Linked DNA regions of Homo sapiens: regions 2, 3, 4, 5 and 6 are each linked to region 1. Evidence: promoter capture Hi-C in 16 types of primary human blood cells and fetal thymus (Javierre and others, 2016). All regions are on one chromosome and are shown on one strand. Each heading gives the region's core, a stretch centred on a gene start or on the middle of the fragment in contact. The rest is flanking DNA. Distances are from core to core; before and after follow the strand shown. Region 1 holds the start of PLPBP (pyridoxal phosphate binding protein). Region 2 overlaps DDHD2 (DDHD domain containing 2). Region 3 has its middle 280 kb from the start of LINC01605. Region 4 holds the start of STAR (steroidogenic acute regulatory protein). Region 5 has its middle 22 kb from the start of ASH2L. Region 6 holds the start of EIF4EBP1 (eukaryotic translation initiation factor 4E binding protein 1).

The links. Contacts are between HindIII fragments. The CHiCAGO score rates a contact against its expected background, and 5 or more counts as called.
Region 2: a contact is called between a fragment that was not itself captured here and the fragment with the promoter of PLPBP in region 1, in 1 of 17 cell types (naive CD8 T cells). The highest score is 5.2, in naive CD8 T cells.
Region 3: a fragment that was not itself captured here is called in contact with the fragment with the promoter of PLPBP in region 1 in 5 of 17 cell types (M1 macrophages, M2 macrophages, M0 macrophages and 2 more); the score reaches 7.8 in M1 macrophages.
Region 4: the fragment with the promoter of STAR here is called in contact with the fragment with the promoter of PLPBP in region 1 in 1 of 17 cell types (erythroblasts); the score reaches 6.8 in erythroblasts.
Region 5: a contact is called between a fragment that was not itself captured here and the fragment with the promoter of PLPBP in region 1, in 1 of 17 cell types (naive CD4 T cells). The highest score is 6.6, in naive CD4 T cells.
Region 6: the fragment with the promoter of EIF4EBP1 here is called in contact with the fragment with the promoter of PLPBP in region 1 in 7 of 17 cell types (monocytes, total B cells, activated CD4 T cells and 4 more); the score reaches 8.1 in monocytes.

The regions. Positions count from the first base shown.
Region 1 is chr8:37,761,022-37,764,231 of GRCh38, forward strand. It overlaps PLPBP (pyridoxal phosphate binding protein), which reads left to right and starts at 1,624. Exons shown (of 8, transcript NM_007198.4): 1 at 1,624-1,737. The coding sequence starts at 1,639. LOC124901934 (a long non-coding RNA gene) reads right to left here and starts at 2,243. Exons shown (of 2, transcript XR_007060889.1): 1 at 1,906-2,243; 2 at 1-1,792. RefSeq lists enhancers at 1,173-1,252, 1,353-1,812, 1,390-1,684, 1,993-2,052 and a silencer at 1,312-1,632. The HindIII fragment of the contact is 3,991 bases long and covers 1,007-3,210 here.
Region 2 is chr8:38,237,628-38,240,837 of GRCh38, forward strand. It overlaps DDHD2 (DDHD domain containing 2), which reads left to right. Exons shown (of 18, transcript NM_015214.3): 5 at 462-582; 6 at 2,648-2,737. Among named protein-coding and RNA genes, the nearest start is that of DDHD2, 7.6 kb to the left of the region's middle. The HindIII fragment of the contact is 2,409 bases long and covers 460-2,868 here.
Region 3 is chr8:37,317,811-37,321,020 of GRCh38, forward strand. No RefSeq gene overlaps it. Among named protein-coding and RNA genes, the nearest start is that of LINC01605, 280 kb to the right of the region's middle. The HindIII fragment of the contact is 2,705 bases long and covers 290-2,994 here.
Region 4 is chr8:38,149,282-38,152,491 of GRCh38, forward strand. It overlaps STAR (steroidogenic acute regulatory protein), which reads right to left and starts at 1,671. Exons shown (of 7, transcript NM_000349.3): 1 at 1,474-1,671. The coding sequence starts at 1,537. RefSeq lists enhancers at 1,510-1,809, 2,158-2,190 and a promoter at 1,644-2,959. The HindIII fragment of the contact is 1,310 bases long and covers 1,645-2,954 here.
Region 5 is chr8:38,082,231-38,085,440 of GRCh38, forward strand. No RefSeq gene overlaps it. Among named protein-coding and RNA genes, the nearest start is that of ASH2L, 22 kb to the right of the region's middle. The HindIII fragment of the contact is 1,106 bases long and covers 1,140-2,245 here.
Region 6 is chr8:38,029,095-38,032,304 of GRCh38, forward strand. EIF4EBP1 (eukaryotic translation initiation factor 4E binding protein 1) reads left to right here and starts at 1,440. Exons shown (of 3, transcript NM_004095.4): 1 at 1,440-1,624. The coding sequence starts at 1,480. RefSeq lists a silencer at 1,221-1,660 and enhancers at 1,237-1,531, 2,161-2,260. The HindIII fragment of the contact is 5,036 bases long and covers 607-3,210 here.

The DNA.
Region 1 (3,210 bases), core at 374-2,873:
GTCCCTTATTTTAAGGATCTGAGGTTCTGCCTAATGTGACTTTCCCAGAGCAGAAGATGTGAAATTCCATCTCTGTTCCTGGGAGTCTGGGGAAAAACTGTGAGAGGAGAGAGTAAGAATATTGCCCCTTCTTTCCGGAAAGCTCTAATAAACCCCATCACCTCAAGACAAGACCACCTGAAGAACAAACATTAGCCATTTCTCTAATATAATAGCATCCCACTTCATTAAGTTGAATTAATGTTTGAGAAACTTTCAACAGAAATTGCAGCCAAGAGTGCTTTCCTTAACAAAATTGATCTCCTTCTCCTTGCCCGTAGCACCTACTATTTCACCACCTGACTATGTAGCATTCTGTATTATTATTTGTATGGCCTGGCTCCTCATCAAGTTTATAACCATATTGCCCACAGAAGGGGACTCAAGAATCAAACTCAGGGCGTTGTGGTGCCCGTTTGTAGTCCCAGCTATTCTGTGAGGCGGAGGTGGGAGGATTGCTTGGGCCCACGAGTCCCAGATAATCTGGGCAACATAGCGAGACCCCATCTCAAAAAAAGAATCTAACTGAATGTGCTGAGCTCCTGCTAGACCATCTAAAGCTGCCTGTGGGCTGGGCGCGGTGGCTCGCACCTGTAGTCCCAGCTACTGGGGAGGCTGAGGCAGGAGAATCGCTTGAACCCGGGAGGTGGAGGTTGCAGTGAGCCCAGATCGGGCCACCGCACTCCAGCCTGGGTGACAGAGCGAGACTGTCTCAATAATAATAATAGTAATAATCATGCTGCCTGTGTCCCCTGATGAGACAGCACTGGCCGCAGGTGGCCGCTAACCTCTCGAAATAGGGATGGCCCGAATTGAGACATATGCAAGTCAACACTACACCGGGTTTCAGAAACACATACGATTTTCAAAAGAATTAAAATATCGCATTTAGTTTTTCTATTGATTGCATGTTGAAATCTTACTTTGGATATATTGGATTAAATAAAGTATATCATTAAAATTTTTAAGCTTATGTGCCTATGAGAAACTTCCAAATTACACAGTTGGATGGCGTTATATTTCTCTTGGACAGCAGTGGTCTGAAAGATGACAAAAATCACGATACGTTTGAATCACGCCATGTCTTTAGGGAAAAGAAGAAAGAAGAGTTTCCTTTCGTATCGCTTAGGGGTTCCTCGCAAGAACCATCTGACAGAGAAAAGCCCTGGCTCCCGCCCCAGTGGCTTCTAATTCTGGTCCCCGCGCCCAGAAAGCCGGGAACGGGCAAGCCTGGAAAGGCGTTTTGAAAGGAAACAGGATCCCCCGAGTATAGGATGCGTTTCTGCCTCACAAAAGTCCCTTGGGGGTGGGGGGACGGCAGCGGCTGAGGCGCAGGAAAGAGGAGAGCACACGGGGAGTGGCCCTTGGAACCAGGCGCGCAAAACCTCAGCCCCTAGGCTCCATTTCCAGGTTCGCGGGTGACCTCCCCAAGATGGCCGCCGCCTGGGGGCGGGCCTCCACGCTGCACGGGTGTTGATTGGGTGAGACGACTCAATGATGAGCAATGATTGGTTCACACGGCGCAAGCTGGGCGGAACCGGAAGATGGTGTGAGCCACGGGCTGCCGGGGGCCTGGGGCTCGGCGTCGGTCCCCGGGGGATGTGGAGAGCTGGCAGCATGTCGGCCGAGCTGGGAGTCGGGTGCGCATTGCGGGCGGTGAACGAGCGCGTGCAGCAGGCTGTGGCGCGGCGGCCGCGGGTGAGGAAGGAGGCTGCGTGGGGACGGTGGGCGGCCGCCTTGAGAAGAGGGACACCTGCGTGGGAATGGGTCGTCACGGTGACGCAGAGGGGTCTCCCAGAGAGGCGGGACTGGTCGGCCGCCTAGGGCCACCGAAAGGCTAGCGAAGGGTTTCCCCAGCCTCCTTACCTTGAGTCTGTTAGGTTTTCTGGAGATTGGCTTCGTTGGAGCAGAGGGTACCGCTACCTCGGGAAAATGACTTAGTGCCTAGGTGTCGTGGCCACTTGCGCACCGCGTCGTTTCGGGGTCGATAGCCTTGGCGGATGCGAGGGGGGCCAGGCCTGTGCCCACGGATGGTAAGGGGAGACGGGGGTACAAGAGCACCCCGCGGAGGCCAGAGACGCCCGAGATCGCGTGTGTGGCAGCGTCTCACCTGCTAAGTGCCCAAGAAATGCCAGTGCCGCCCGGAGGCCGAGGTGAGGGTGGACTGGCCGGACTTCGCTGGCATCAGAGCGGCACTTGTTTATGGGGCAGGAGGGAGAAGTCCAATCCCAAGCCGGTTAAGGGGAGCTTTCGTCTTTTGTGTATATATATATTACATCCTCTTGGACTTTGATTAGACCAAGAATCAAAATCTGCCCACCTCAGTGCAAGTTTAAGCTGAATGGTGTGGAATGAGACGGACCTTAACAGAGAGGTCACAGGTTTCTCTGATCGAGCATTTATGCTGGCTGAAGACAAGACCTGTATTATAGTCTTTCTTTGACTATTCCTTAGACGTTACCTTGAACAAGTCAGGTAACTATTCCGGCCCTCAGCTCTGAAAGCTCTGAGATCTCTTCTGATGTTAATATTCTGTGATTCTCGGTGATTCTCCAAGAAAAATCTAGGGCTTCCCCTAATAAACATCACCTTGGAGGTTCTCTCAGGGAAACTCTCAGGCAGATGGGCTGCCTGTTCGGGTAACTCTCTGGAAAGCGTCAATCATCAGCATACTCCCAGTAGTCACGACTTGGACTCAAACGAGGCTGGTTACGCATCGCTGTGGAAGGAAGGAAGAGGAGACATTTTTCTAATTGATCTGACTCCGTCACGTCCTTGAGAACACTGTGATTCTGTGAAAACTTCAGGGGATGATGGATACAAGAAGACTAAATCGTGCAAGGATAAACGAATCTCTTCTCTTACTGTTTCTATGTGGATTGGGTGGCAGCAGAACGCATAGAACCCCCGCTCTTTGTATAGTGGTCGTGAGAGGATGTCACATAGGTCTGATCCTGAATCCAGAATTTTTTGTGTCGCAGCCTTAGTTCTGCCACTGGTTCTTTTCTTTCTTTTTTTTTTTTTTTTTGTTGTGTTGTTTTGTTTTGTTTTGTTTTGTTTGAGACAGAGTCTCGTTCTGTCGCCCAGGCTGGAGTGCAGTGGCACGATCTTGGCTCACCGCAACCTCCACCTCCCGGGTTCACGCAATTCTCCTGCCTCAGCCTCCTGAGT
Region 2 (3,210 bases), core at 414-2,913, 480 kb after region 1:
GTAAAACAAAGCATTTCTCTTGTCGGGATAAAAAGTTAATTGCGCTATTAGGGAGAACTCAATTGGTTTCTTTTGCTAAGCACTCTGTGTAGGATAACCTTTGTCAAATTTTATATTGAATTCACAGTTATGAAACTTAAAAACTTGTAGCCACTACTGTTATTTACCCAACTCAGCTTATACAAAATAATTTTCTTATGGAAAATTATGCCACTGTAGAATAAGAAAATCACTGACATATTATGTGAGCATGTCTTCCATGTAGAAAGGGACTATTGACAGATCTGTTAGCCTAATATATTTTCACGGTTCTCATTTCAAGCCATACGAGTTGTATATCAAAACTCCAGTTCAGATTTTACTGTGTGGTTTGAAAGACATGATTCTACACTTAAAACTGCATTGTATAGAGATGATTGTATTGCAGAATATTTTTATTGCTCTGATCTGTTCTGTTTAAGCTTATGGTGCATTACCAGCCAGTTGCAGGGTCTGATGATTGGGGTTCAACACCCACGGAGCAGGGTCGACCAAGAACTGTGAAGAGAGGAGTTGAGAACATCTCTGTTGACATTCATTGTGGTAATGTTAATCGTTTATTTTTTCTTACCTTTGGATGTATTTGTTTACTCCTTAAATTGTGACCTTTTTCTGTGGATTTAGATTACCTCAAGGCTTAAAAATCATCTTTAATCATATGGGTTTATTCCAAGTTGAGATTAGCATCACTTCGTCTACTAAGAATCTTAATAGATGTAAAAATATCTTTTAAAACATATGGTAGGATGGGTAAAATTTGGCAATACTATCCAGGAAGTCACTAAGTACAGATGAACTGATTTAGTCCTAATTCCAAGAAGTGTGATTCCACCTACTTGACTAGAAATTTATACCTGGTAATAACTCCTTGTCCTTGAAGATTTTCAACTAAGGAAAACTGTTTTTCAGCAGGACCTGATTATGCACTGCTATCTAGGTAGGGTCACTTATGGTTTTATAATATATTTAATTGGATTATAATATTCCTTTTTTCTTGTCTCTTGGACAAAATCCTAGCTTTACTGTAATTTAAAAAGATGAGTTTAAAATTTCAGGCTTTAAAAACATACCAAACATTGATAAAAATGAAATACTAGATAAAAGTATTTTATCAATGTTCAGTTGCCTGGATTCAATAACTGTATTATGGTTATGTAAGATAATATACTTAGGAAATACACATTATGGTATTAAAGGGTTAAAGAGGTATGGTGCATGCAACCTGATGATGTATGTAGTCTGCTTTCTAATGATTCAGAAAAATAAATGTGTGTGTGTGTGTGTGTACACACACAGAGAATCATAAAGCAAATGTAATTGTTAAAAAGTTGAATCTCTGTAAAAAGTATGTGGGAGTGTCTGTACTATGCTTTCTAGTTTTCTGTACATTTCTAGTTATTTAGAAATAAAAAGTTTTAAAAACCTGGCTGCACGTGGTAGCTCATGCCTGTAATCCCAGCACTTGGGGAGGCCAAGGTGGAAGGATCACTTGAGCCCAGGAGTTCGAGACCAGCCTGGGCAATATGGCGAAACCCTGTCTGTACAAAAAATACAAAAATTAACTGGGCATGGTAGCACACATCTGTAGTCTCAGCTATTTTGGAGGCTGAGGCAGGAGGATCACTCGAGCCCAGAAGGTTGAGGCTGGAATGAGTGTTTATCATGCCACTGCACTCCAGCCTAGGCGACAGAGTGAGACTCTGTCTCAAAAAAAAAAAAAAAAAAGTTTTTAAAACCTGAAAAAAGGCCAAGTGTGTTGGCTCACGGCTGTAATCCCAGCACTTTGGGAGGCTGAGGCGGGCGGGTCAGGAGGTCGAGACCATTCTGGCTAACACGGTGAAACACCCTGTCTCTACTAAAACTACAAAAAATTAGCCAGGTGTGGTGGCGTGTGCGTGTAGTCCCAACTACTCGGGAGGCTGAGGCAGGAGAATCGCTTAAACCCGGGAGGCAGAGGTTGCAGTGAGCCAAGATCGTGCCACTGCACTCCAGCCTGGGTGACAGAGCAAGACTCTGTCACAAACAAAAAAAAAACCATAATTTAAAAAAAAAAAAAAAAGAGTTTTTTTTTTTGGAGACAGAGTCTTGCTCTGTCACCCAGGCTGGAGTGCAGTGGTGTGATCTCGGCTCACTGCAACCTCTGCCACCTCCAGGGTTCAAGTGATTCTTCTGCCTCAGCCTCGCGAGTAGCTGGGATTACAGGCATGTGCCACCACACCCGGCTAATTTTGTATTTTTAGTAGAGATGAAGTTTCACCGTGTTGGTCAGGCTGGTCTCGAACTCCTGACCTCATGATCTACCTGCCTTGGCCTCCCAAAGTGCTGGGATTACAGCCGTGAGCCACCGCGCCCAGCCGAGTTTTCTTTTTCAGAGATCAGAAAAAAAAGAAAAAAGTCCTGAAAAAAATTTTACAGACTTATTTCAAGATAAATTAGAAACCAAGTAAAATCAGTGTATTTTTGCTAGGTACTTAAAGGACTATTTTGTATCTTTTAAATTATCTGTTCATCTTTTAACTTGCTCATATTTATAACCTTTTCATGATGAATGATATTAGAATACATGACTAATTATACAGAATAATTTTCTTTTTAATTTCATTTATAGGAGAACCTTTACAAATAGATCACTTGGTTTTTGTAGTCCATGGGATTGGACCAGCTTGTGATCTCCGCTTTCGAAGCATTGTACAGTGTGGTAGGTTTGCAAAGCATGTGAGAGAATATTAATCAGTGCTCTTGTGAGCTGAGATAAAGCCTTGTCTTTGGTCTATTGTCTTAGCTGCATAAGAAGATTTGGAGAGTTAAAGACAGGTGGCAAGGTAGTAAAGCTTCTCAGCTTAGACCTGAAGTGCTAGGAAATTCCTGAGTCTAATAGTTTATACTCTTAACTATTGTAATAGTCTCAAATGAACAAGCAGTTAATCCCTATAAAATTGTGTTTTATGATGTGGTGGTCCTATTTCTAACTATTTCAAATTTACAGGGAACCATAAAGATGATAGAGTTTAATGAATAACAGAAGCATCAATCATTTTTGTAATTCATACTGTGATAAACCTTTGATATTGTAATTGGAGGATTTAAGTCATTAGTATAACTAGATTTTGAAAGGTGTCCTCTAGGCTGGGTGCGGTGGCTCACGCCTGTAATCCCAGCACTTTGGGAGGC
Region 3 (3,210 bases), core at 392-2,891, 440 kb before region 1:
AGGAGCTGGCTGTGTAAAGGACACTTCCTCTAAATCCTCATCAAATGGCAAAGAGTACTTCCCTAACGAAAAGAACTGCTCCCTGATTCCCTGTCCCAATATTCTCCTATGCATTGGGAAACCCTCCTCTCTTCAATAATTAGTTTTTATGCATCCAGATTTTTTATACCTGAGCTCTCACATTTACCTCAAGCGAGGCACATGAGTATCCAACTCTCCATAAGGTTCCCAATGCAAGACTTTTTCTGTATCCCAGGTGGCAAGGCAGAGAAAGAAAATCCCCGAACCAAGCTTTCCCCAAAGGCCTGGTGGGGCTGGGAGGCAGAGACAGCCCAGGAAGAGGTCTTCACAGGGAAGTGGAGAGAGCAAAGGAGGAAGAAAAACAAACACAGTTTTAATTAAACACAGTGTATCTAAATCAGGGAGGTATGTTCAGAGAGCAAGGAAGGGTGAAATGGAATTTCTAGAAGAAAACAACTTTCTTCACCTTCTTAGTTTCATTAACATTGAAATGAACCCCCTGAGGAGCAGGAGCCAGGCCCTACTGCAGGGGAGGAGAGAAAGCTGCCCTGCGCCTCTATGGGGCTTTGTACTCTTTGGCACTGGATCCACCAACACAGGGCACCCCTCCTGGAGCCAGCTCTTGGGGGCATCTGCCCTGCCTGTGCATCTGGGGGATTCATTCTGGCCATAGGCAGCCGAGAAGTGGGACCTGTGTGGTGGGTGTCAGGGATGGGCAGGGACTCTTATCTGGGCCCATCCAGCTCCCTGCCTGGCTCTCCCCACTCCTTTGCAGAGCCATCCCCACTGCTGGGATGTTTGGGGTGCAGCAGGAATTGCCAGTCTCTGCAGCTCTCCTCTCCCCGGCTCAGGAAACTTGACTTCATGCTTGCCTGGAAACCCACCTTCCAGCCCTGCCCTCGCTGAGACCTGTGAGACGGAAGAGGTTCTAGGCCCACCTCAGGGTCTCAGCAGGTGAGTCTCACTTGCCGCTAATTTGGCCTCAAGTCTGATAGTTGAATGGCTCCCTAACCTCTGGCTGCTGGTCCCACCCTGCACCCAGTTCTTACCACAGTGCTTCTGTCTTCTTCCTTCTCTCTGTGCCAAAGCCTTGAAAAGTGTCCTGAGTCCCTTTCTCTCCTTTGTCACCACCCTCTAGTGCCCCCTGAACATCAGCCCTGAGACTGGCTCTTTGCCAGGAGAAGTACCCTGCCCCTTCTTCCTCATCCCAGTGCTTTTCACCACCTATTTGGAAACTATTATAACTGCCCAATGGGTTCTCCTTGCCCACTGCCCAGCTACGGCTGATTTATCAAGACAAGGGACTTGCAATAGAGAATGAGTTTAATACATAGAGCCAGCTAAACAGAAGACTGGAGTTTTATTATTACTCAAATCAGCCTCCTTGAAAATTCAGAGGCTAGGTCTTTTTAAAAATAGTTTGGCAGGCAGGGGCTAGGGAATGGGGAATACTGATTGGTTGGGTCAGGGATAAAATGATAGGGGATTGAAGCCATCCTCTTGCACTGAGCCAGTTCCTACGTGGGAGCCACAAGACCAGATGAGCCACTTTACCAGTCTGGGTGGTGCCAGCTGATGCATCAGAATGCAAGGTCTGGAAAATATCTCAAACACCAATCTTAGGTCTTAGAATAGTAATGTTAGCCATCAAAGCAACTGGGGAGGTTAGGAATGCTATGGCCTCTGACTGAATGACTCCTGAGCCATAATTTCTAATTTTGTGGCTAATATGTCAGTTTTACATAGTTCAGCCTATGTTCAGGAATGAACAAGGACAGCTTGGAAGTTAAAGGCAAGATGGAGTTGGTTAGGTCAGATCACCTTCACTGTCATAATGTTCTCACTGTTATCATCTTTGCAAAGGCAGTTTCACTATTTGTCATCTCTTGCTTTGGCATAATGCCTGACCCACAGTACAGGGTTAATAAATGTGTGTGAAGTGGATGGATGATTGGATAAGTGAACCTGACTGGGGACTTGGGAAGGCTTCAGGTAGAGCCAGCTTCGCGTACTTGAATGTCATCCTTAATCTGTGGCCTGCTAAGAGTCTCCAGTTTTTGTATGGATAATGCCCGGACTATGACAACTTGCCTTGAAACTCCCTCTATTAAACAACCAAAACACATTCATAGCTATTGTTGACCTAAAAGGAAGAATCTGAGGCCACATTAGTGTAAGTAGAAAGGTATTTGGGCCAAACTTGAAATTGCAACTCGGGAGCACAGAATCAAGTTGTCCTGAATATACACTTTGATTAGCAGCAGTTACAAGTGGATTTTTAAAGGCAAAACAGGGGACAAGGAGTGGATTGATACAAAGTTGTTCGTCAGGAATTCTCACTGGTTTACAGAAATAACATTGATTAGTGATTGGCTAGACATTGTTAAGCAATAGGTTGTGGCTGATAGTGTCTGGTGTGGCATTATGAGGTTAATTTATAGCCTGTAGTAATAGCAAGCAGTTTCAAGAGAAGAATACGTAGCTCAAGGGGGAAGTAGGATGTGATTGCTGTCTCATTTTAATATCTCTCTGGGCCTGCTAATTAAAAGGACTCCCATTCCTCAGATAAAAGTTCTTTTCTTTTCTCACCATCCAGTAAACAACCAGTCCCAATATTGATGCTCAATGAGACACTGGCCAGCTGGCTGGTAAAGTTTAGCAGCATCTCAACTGACTTGATCCGCTCTGCATTTAGAGCAGGGACTGGCCAGTGCAAAGAAGGAGGAGGAGGTGCTACTTTAACTACACTTCCCCCATTATTTGCGATTCAAAAACTTCCATTGAACAACCTCATTGAACTGGCCGTGCAAATTTCCTAAATATTTTCTAAATGAATGACCATAAATTTGAAAGCAAATTCAAGGTCCCTGGGGCAATGGAAAAAGTCTACAAGGAAAATCCACAAGGTAGAAGAGGGGCCTTATCCAGTATAACCCAAGAAGAAGAATCATAAAGGGGAAGTAGTCAAAACAAAGCTTTATATCATTTGGTTTTGCATAATTAATAAATGTCTGTAATCACATTTATTTGTATTTCATCTAGTTCCATTTCAACATCAAATTTTGATAATTCATGGTATGAAAATGGAAATTAAAAGTTCAGCACTATGATTTTTCTATGAATAATTAGGAATAGAAATAAGAAGAAATGGAGATTCAAAGTATCTTGGCTAATTCTTTGTACATATCC
Region 4 (3,210 bases), core at 421-2,920, 390 kb after region 1:
CGACAACACCACTGCCAGCTGCAGATCTAAGCATGGCTTCTCGCTCTAAAGGTAGCTAATTCAATCCAGTGTAATTGGAAAGATCGTGCCTAGATTGACTTGTGTACCCTTCAGTGGCAGCAGGGGATTGATTCAAATGACCTTGGATGCGAATCAGCTCTACAAAAGTGGCCTCTTGTAGCTGGTTTCTGCCCCTTCCTGGCTATTCAATGATAATCAGTCTTCCGTCTTATCTCTTTACCTTGCCCTCCTGTCTTACTCCCCTATGTCTCTTCTCCGTCTTTTTTTGCCTGTGGGAGTCAAGTCTAATATTTACTCTGCCACTGTGGGCAAGACTTTCCTGTGTACCCCTGCTACAAGACTTGTCCAGCTCTGAAGGAAGGCAAAGTCAGGAATAGTTCAAGAAAGATGGCCAGGCATGGTGGTGCACGCCTGTGGTCCCAGCCACTCAGGAGGCTGAGGCAGGAGAATTGCTTGAACCCAGGACGCAGAGGCTGCAGTGAGCCAAGATAGCGCCAGTGCACTCCAGCCTAGGCAACAGAGCGAGACTGCCTCAAAAATAAAATAGGCTGAGCGCCATGGCTCATGCCTATAATCCCAGCAGTTTGGGAGGCAGATCACCTGAGGTCAGGAGTTCAAGACCAGTCTGGTCGACGTGGCGAAACCCTGTCTCTACTAAAAATACAAAAACTAGCCAGGCGTGGTGGCATGCACCTGTAATCCCAGCTACCCAGGAGGCGGAGGTTGCAGTGAGCCGAGATCGTGCCACTGCGCTCCAGGCTGGGCAACAGAGTGAGACTCCATCTCAAAATAAAGTAAGCCAGGTGTGGCGGCTCACACCTGTAATCCCAGCACTTTGGGAGGCCAAGGTGGGAGAATCCCTTGAGCCCAGGGGGTCAAGACCAGCGTGACCAATATAGCAAGACATTGTCTCTAAAAAAAATAAAAATAAAAATAAATAAATAAAACTAGCTGGTTGTGGTGGTGCACGCCTGTAGTCCCAGGTACTCAAGAGGCTGAGGTGGGAGGATGGCTTGAGCCCATGAGTTTGAGGCTGCAGTGAGCTATGATTGTTCTACTGTACTCCAGCCTCTGTGACAGAGACCTTTATTCAAACAAAAAAAAAAGAAAAGGCGGAAGAAAAAAAGAACGAATGAAGGAAAAGGGGAAGGAAGAAAGGAAGAAAGAAAGGAAAGGAAGGAGGGAAGGAAGAAAGAAAAAGAATAAAAATGAAAGAAAAGGAGAAAAAAAGATTGGAGTCCTGGAGGGGAGACCAGAAATTATAGAATCTGGAAGGGATATATCTTAGTAACCAGCCCACTTCTTCCGAGGGGAAAACTGAGATTCAAGAAGGGAAGAAACTTGCCCAGGTTCACCCAGTAAGAGGCACAACTAGGATCAGAATTGGGTGGCCTGAGCCTCATCCGCTGAGAGCTGGCCAACCCCTCATCGCCTCCTTCCCGCAGCGCTCACCCTTCATGTTGCGCATGTGTCTGTAGGAGCTCCCAGCGCACAGCTTGAATGTCGCTAGCAGCATTGTTTCCTGGCAAATGTGGCAGTGGTGGGGTCGCTGCCGCTGCTGCTGCCGCCGCTGCTGCTGCCTCTTCTCTCAAGGGTGGTTCTTCGTCCTTCCTGAGCCCCTCAAGCTTCGCCTCTGAGTCCCGCAGCTGCAGCCTGGACCTGGTGTTCTGCGTCTTAAATGTCCCCCGCTGAAGGCTGTGCATCATCATCAGGAGATAAAAACGCCATCACTCACTGTGCAAAGGAAGGGGTCAAGGATAGAGCGATTGCCTCACACTGCTGCTTTGGCCGTTTGTGGGGAGCTTGGGGCGGGGGAGGGTGCAGGGGAGAGTAGGGAGGACAGGGCCAGGCGAGGGATGGAGGGGAGAGAAGCAGGGGCAGCTTAGATGAAGGCACACAGTGGTTTTCAAGACTTTAAAGTGCAGATTTCTAGCCCTTGTCTTCAGAAACTCCAGGCTCAGCTGATCTGGAATTGAGGCTCAGAAACCTGTGTTAAAAAAAAAAAAAAAAAAAAAAAAAAAAAAAAAAAAGAAGGAAAAGAAAAGAAAAAAGAAAAAAAGAAAAGAAAAAAACTTCCCTTGGCCAGGCGCGGTGGCTTACGCCTGTAACCCCAGCACTTTGGGAGGCCGAGGTGGGCAGATCACTTGAGGTCAGGCGTTCGAGACCAGCATGGCCAACATGGTGAAACCTCATCTCTACTAAAAATACAAAAAATTAGCCGGGTGATGTGGCAGGCACCTGTAGTCCCAGCTACTCGGGAGGCTGAGGCATGAGAATCACTTGAACCCAGGAGGCAGAGGTTGCAGTAAGCCAAGATCGTGCCACTGCACTCCATCCTGGGCGACAGAGTGAGACTCCGTCATAAATAAATAAATTAAATAAATAAATAAATAAATACCCAGTGGTTGCAATGCAGGTGTTGTGTGGACTACACACTACACTTTGAGAACCACCGTCTCGCGAGAGTGAGCCAGGGTGTTTACCAGGCAGTAGAGACCATATGGCTGCTCTTCTTCTGGGTGAGGACCCTGAAGTCCACAGAGTGGAACTGACTTGTTCAAGGTCAAACAGCTGGCCAGTGGCAGGGCCAGGACAACAACCCAAGCCTCTGGCCTTCAAGCCATCTGTACACAGTTCCTCCTGCGGTCCCCAGGACGCTTGGTATATTCAACTGTCAATTTATTTACTCATCTATTTATAGAAACCACCTTTCCCAAAGTCCTGTTCCGAGTGAGGGTTCTTAGGGGTCTGTGCTGGAGCAAGGATGACCTCTCGTGGCTGAGTCGCGGGGGGGCGGGGGGGGGCGGGGCAGCCCTATCAGTATACGGCAGAGAGAAGAGGAGGGCCTGGGCCACGCCCACACCCTTCCTCACACTTTCCCGCCAGTAGCTTTGTCTGAGTGAGCTGGGCTGGGGGTCTTGGTATGTGCAGAAAGCTTGAAAAGACAGGGCATGGGCTGGGCACAGTGGCTCATGCCTGTAATCCCAGCACTTTGGGAGGCTGAGGCGGGCAAATCACAAGGTCAGGAGTTTGAGACCAGCCTGACCAACATGGTGAAACCTCGTCTCTACTGACAATACAAAAATTAGCCGGGAGTGGTAGCGTATGCCTATAATCCCAGCTACTCAGGAGACTGAGGCAGGATAATCACTTGAACCCGGGAGGCAGAGGTTGCAGTGAGCCAAGATA
Region 5 (3,210 bases), core at 443-2,942, 320 kb after region 1:
GACTACGTGGGGTGCAGGTTCTAAACTACATTTAGCTTTTGAAGGAAAAAGTAAAAATTTCTTGGTGGTCTTTGATTGTACTTGTAAAATTCATGAATTCCTTCTTCATCCCCCCCCCTTTGGTGCTCGCCATAAATGTAGATTGATAAAGAGCACCACAGTCGTTTATCTCTTCCTGTGTAGGCACGTATTCTTCCTGGGGGACTGGTTGGTATTTTTGTAATGCCATTATTTTGGTGGTAGTTGTTCCGTCCACTATTGCTTTAATAGTAGACTGGATGCTTCTGATGAGGAGAGGTAAAAGACAAGGCAGTATTAGACATCCTCCTACTATAGCTATAAAAACAATTATCAAGGTTTTAAAGCCTTCCAAGCATGAGAACCATCCTCCAAAAAGTGAGTTTGGGCTCCACCAGGACCAAGTCTGGACTGGGACATGGGCTAACTTCCTCATTCTAGCAGTAATTTCCATAACAGCTCTTCTGTTATTATCGATTTGTAAGCAACAGTTGGTCAAATTAAGCTTGCCACAAACTCCTCCTTCTGAGGCTAGGAGGTAGTCTAATGCTAGCCTATTTTGGTATATAGCATCTCTCATTTGAGTGGCCTGTAAAGCTAACAGATCCAAGGCTTGGGGTGTTTCATTGACTATGACTTCTGTACTGCTTGCAATCTTATAATTCGGTTTAACATGTAAATAGGGGTGCGGTAGCCCCATGATCCATCTTGAGCCCATGTAGCTGGCCCATAGTATTTGATAATTTTTTCAGGAGGCCACTCATTATCCTTCCAGCTTCCTATCTCAATGTCCTTCTTTATGTTTGTGTTTATCTTTTCTACAGTACTTATCTGAATAAAGACGTTTCTTCTGGTCCTTTTCCCTTCTTCATTATAGACCAGGTAACTTAAATCTTCCCCTTGTTTCAGTGGGAGCAAGAAGAAGGACGGCCTTATTGTCTTTAACACACAGGCTCCAGTCCACTTCTCAGGCAATAGTTGATAGGCTTTTGTCCCACAGGTCCAATATAGTTCTGCCGGTGCTTTCTAAACATTTGGAGCATCTAGTTGATACCATGACTGATTTAGTGCTGGAAACTGAAAGAGAGGGTTAAAATCTGGTACAGAGGAATTGTCTATAAAGCTTCTCCACTGTGTCTTGTTCTTAGACTATTCAAAATATTGCTGACCTAAACAAGTTTTATCTCCTACTTGAGTTTGAAAGTCTTTTCCCCATGGTGCTATGCAGTATCTTCTAATGATAGGGGTTTTTAAGAGCCAGACGCTTGGGTTTGCATTGAACCTTGTAACAAATTCCAGTATGGTAAAGTTATCTTATGGCATTAGTTTTCTAGCCTCCCAGAGCCATTGGTCACCTATACTGGTACCTCCACATACATAACATGAGGTGACTCTGAGATTAGTAGCAATACTTTCAGCTAGCTGAGTGAGTAGGTTCTCAGCTGACATTGGTGGAATCTGAACTTTTGGCTCCCTGGGGTTAAAATGTTTACTGAAGGATTTGAAAAATCTGAACTGTGACATTGGACTGACTTGAGCTTCAGCTCGCTGAGTCTTTTTAATAATGATTAATTGAATACCTAGATTTACTTCTTCTCGAGCAAAGATTGCTCTCCTTGGTGTCCTTTAGTCCAAAAAGGCATGTTTGGCCTTAATATGGTCAGATTTAGGGGGTTGCATGTTTTAGTTGCACAACCAATCTTTGCTTCTTGGCTGGTTAGCAGAGCTACTCTCCCTGCATAAAGGCATTGGCTGAACTGATTTGTGGTCCATTGAATGTTACCATCAGGACATTCTTCTTCTAGTTCTCCTGTTATGATCTTAGCAGGCTTGCTACTGACTCTTTCTTGTCCTAAGTTCTTGCAGACTACTCCTAGATTGTTTAGGTTGCTGAGGTGTGCAGCCTGACAGGCATCAAAATATATAGAAATAGATCCTTTATGTGAATAAGAGAATACCTGCATTTTGCTTACGAGTTTCCCAGTTCTAACGTCTTTAGGATTGGCATATGAAGGTAATAAAGGTTTCCCTATTTTGAATTTAAAACCAGAAGTCATAGGGAAGGAGGCCTGGATTATAACATACTTGAGGTTGCCTATTTCCGTGTCACAGACGGAGTAGCTGGTTTGATTATAAACACATGTCCCCAAGGGAGTTCCTTTACAAACTTATTACACTCATAATAAGTTTGATATAACAGGGTTTTAGTTATACCTTTACCAGACCAAGCTTCTATCATACAATGATGACAATTATCTTGGTTTCCTCCCATGCCTGTTAACATTATTGTCATTAGTCTGATCAAGTTTATACTATGCACGGGCATCCTCCTGGGCAACAAGTTTGGTAGCAGTTGCAAAGATAGCATGACAGCAAGGCAATCAGTATAAGCAATAGTGTAACTACATTTGCAAATTCAGTCCACATTTACTCATCTAGTGCTGGCTTCCTCAGGCTTCGGCCGTGCATAGACTAGTCAGCTTCTGGTTGTGTGACTAGAGCAGGGCTTGATGTTTCCTTAAGCTTCAGCCTTGCGTAGACTAGTCAGCTTCCAGTTGTGTGACTAGAGCAGAGCTTGATGCTTCCTTAAGCTACAGCCGTGCGTTGACCGACCAGCCTCTGGTGTGGTCGTAGCAGGGCAGTTGTCTTTTCCTGCTGCGCCTTGGTTCCTCTGCAAGATCAGTCGAGTTGGATGATCTGGATCTTGCTGACTCGTCCATTGGTCTTGAACTGAGGCTGCAGGTTTTAGTTGACTGTGGTGGTGTAATACCTGCAACTTTAACAGCAGTAGGGGTAGACATGATCACAATATGGGGGCCATCCCATAAGGGCCCGAGGGTGGTAGGATTCCAGCATTTAACCCATACAGAGTCCCCACGTTGAAAAAGATGTATTGCATCTGTAAGGCTAACAGGTATTCTTTCTCTTACCCACCTTTGTACTTCTTGCATTACCTCACCTAATGCCTGCATTTATCTTCTTAGGGTCGGTTCTCCAATTTCCTTTCAATCTCCTTTTAACTGAGATATAAGTGGGGGTGGTGGGCCATACACTATCTCATAGGGTGGATACCTGGTTAATTTGTAGGGGTACACCTGACTCGGAGAAGGACCATGGGCAATACCTGGTCCCACCTTAAATGAGTCTCTTGGCAAAACTTCTTCAACAGTTGTTTCAGTCCAGTTCATCCTT
Region 6 (3,210 bases), core at 190-2,689, 270 kb after region 1:
ACATGATTTTCTTCACACTAAGTCTTTGAAATATGGTGTGTATGTTAAACTTGTGACAGTTTGGACTGGTCACATTTGGAGTGCTCAATGTGCACCTGTAGCTGGTGGCTACTGTCTTAGCCACTGTAGGCCTAAAGTTTCCCTCAAAAGTGAGACCAAACTCAACAGGTCTCCCTATCTCAGGCCTTGCCCTCCTTGGCCCATTCTGAAACTCCACTGGCTACTAGTTATCCTTCCAAAAAACAACTCAAATCATGTCATCCCCCTGCTTAAAAGATCTCTGATATCTCCTGCCCTTCTAAGACAAAGTCCAAGCACTTTGGCATAATTTGAAAAACTCAACGACCTGACCCCAATTTCCTTTTTAAAAAATTATTATATATTTTTTTAGAGATAGGGTCTCTGTCACAAAGGGTGGAGTGCAGTGGTGTGATCACAGCTCACTGGAGCCTCAAACCCCTGGGCTCAAGCATCCTCCAGCCTCAGCTTCCTGAGTAGCTGGGATTACAGGTGCACCACCCAATTTCCCTTTTAAACTGCCCTCCCCTCTTCACCCTCTTCCCCACAATATGTGCCCATAATGCTAAGAACTTCTCAAACCCAACAAGCTTTTCCATCCTCGGTCCTTCTTGCATTTTTCTCTCTCCCCTTGAACATCCATCCATCCATCCATCCATCCATCCATCCATCCATCCATCCAAGGAGTACCTACTAAACCTCAGGTGGACGTTGGACTCAATTCAGGGGCTATCGGGAAACCTCTTCGACACTCTTACTCCTCTCCAACGCCCTTCCCCACCACCCACCTCTGCGCCCCCAGCTCTAAATTTAGCTCCCAGGACGCCGCTGGTTGGTTCACTCCTCCTCCCACACCCTCTCTAAAGGCCGGGAACGGAATTGTTAGCCCCTCCACCCCCACCCCCATCAAGGTCAAGAAATTGAAGCGGGGCGGGGGGCGGTGAGCATAACTACTCAATCCCCATTTTCTCATCTGAGGAACTAAGGCACGAAACAGGGAGTGCCGAAGGGTACACCAGGCCTGATGTCCTAATGCAGAAACCGGGCCTTCCTGCAGTGGGCCGGGTCAGCTCGGATCTCCGCGCGGTCCTGAGTCGCCGCCCCCAACCCAGCCAAGGATTAATTTAGGCGAGCTATCCCGCCCGCCATCCCCATATCCGTCCCTGCCAGCGTGGCGGGGAGGGACCCCGGACGGAGGGGCAGTCGCTGCGGGGCGGCGCCAGCGCCCGTGCGGAAGAGCCCGTGAGCAGACGGGAGTGGGTCGGGGGGCGGCGGGGGATCCCACGTGGAAGCAGCGTCCTGGAGCTGGGTGGGGCTGCGGCGCGGACTACAAATCCCAGGGGCGTGGGGCGGGAGAGGCGGAAGGGGCGTCCTGGGGCGGGGCGGCACGGGGCGAGGCGGAGCGAGGCTGGAGGCGCGGGAGGGCAGCGAGAGGTTCGCGGGTGCAGCGCACAGGAGACCATGTCCGGGGGCAGCAGCTGCAGCCAGACCCCAAGCCGGGCCATCCCCGCCACTCGCCGGGTGGTGCTCGGCGACGGCGTGCAGCTCCCGCCCGGGGACTACAGCACGACCCCCGGCGGCACGCTCTTCAGCACCACCCCGGGAGGTAGGCGCGGGCTTGGCGACGCCGCTTGCCGGCTCCTGGGCGGGCGGGAGGATCGGGAATCGCGGATTGGACCGGGTGTCCAGGCTCAAGGGCGCCGTGATTGGAAAGAACGGAAAAGGGGCATCGGAGAGACAGCGAGGGTCATGGAAGTGGCCGCCCGCTTCCCCTCTGAGTGCGTCTTCCAGACCCGAGTTACAAACTGCCCCGTTTGTTTCCTCTTTCTGTTAGGTGTCAGACAGCTGACACCTAACAAACACGCACGCCTCCAGGACAGCCACATGCCGAGCTGTGCTGCCCCTTGTGGGTGTTGGGGGCGCTCCCGAAGCGGGAGAGGGCGGAGTTAGGGTGGCCCACGATCCAGGAGAGGCCTGGCCTGGTGTTTTTATGGGATGGGTATTATCTGTTGGGATAAACGATTCCTGCAGGGCCCTTTTTCCTTCCCGAAGCACGCCGAGTTTTGTGTTGGACTCGCGCGCTCTGACTGAGGTTCGGATCTGGGGGTGCTTGCCTGCTCCAGCAGCGCCTCCCGGGCACCTGTGGCACGTTCCCCATTTACGCGAGTGGGATCTCCGCGGGGGGGACCCTGGCGCCACGGCCAGGGCTGTGCAGAAAAACACGTTCTTCTGTCCGGGGAGAGGAGGAGGCACCGTGTGACCTCCCTGGGAGAGGATGAGGAAGAGGAAGCTGAGCTGGCACGGGTGGGGGGGCCAGCCTCGGGCTGCCCTCAGGAACCTGGCATTCCCTCCCAGCCCCGGAGCCCCAGCGCACAGACGCTGATGAAACCTACGCGCCTGTTTGCATGATGAAATAAATCCTCGTGGCTCTCTCCTCCCCTCTCATTGTCGCACTGCCCCCACCCCTTTTTGCTCCTCTCCCTTCATTCTCCTCCACGCTGCTTTCCATACTACTAGAAAACGCGACAGATCCTGGCGCTTGGCTAGGTGGCGGGCGGGGGCCACATGCTTATTTTCTCAGGCAGCTGTCCCACCAGCAGCGAGCGCGGCCAGATCCGAGGTCCTCTGCTGTTTGATCCAAAACATACACTGTTAGAACGGTTAGGGATCTTGTCCAGCCCTGCCGTCTTATTCTACAGAGCCCGGCATTGAGGCCCCAGAGCTTGAACACGTGTCTGTTGCCCATTGTCACACCGTTTTCCCAGATTGGACAAGAAATAGCAACCAGGCAGAGAAGGGAGAAATGCTTCCTTTTCTATTAGAAATGAGCCAAGGAAAAGCTCGCAGGGGCTCTTGTTGCCATTCCCGACTCATCCTCTTTCCCTTGCTGGGTCTTTTGTAGTCCATGCTGTTCTCCTTTGTCTCTGTCACAATGGTCTACCAGGACAATTCCTGACAATTTTGGAGTTCTTTCAAATGAGGGTGTAAGTGTCTGCTGGATTTGTTCAGGGTGGGCCCTGAGGCCGGCCTGAAGGCGCAGGTAGCCCTTTTTTGCACTCTTTATTGCTGGATTGTTGGGTCAAATTGGAAGCCAGGATACTGTTTATAGGCACTTCTGGCCCGGGTACCAAGGTTCACACCTGTAATGCCAGCATTTTGGGGAGCCAAGGCAGGAGAATTGCTTGAGGCCAG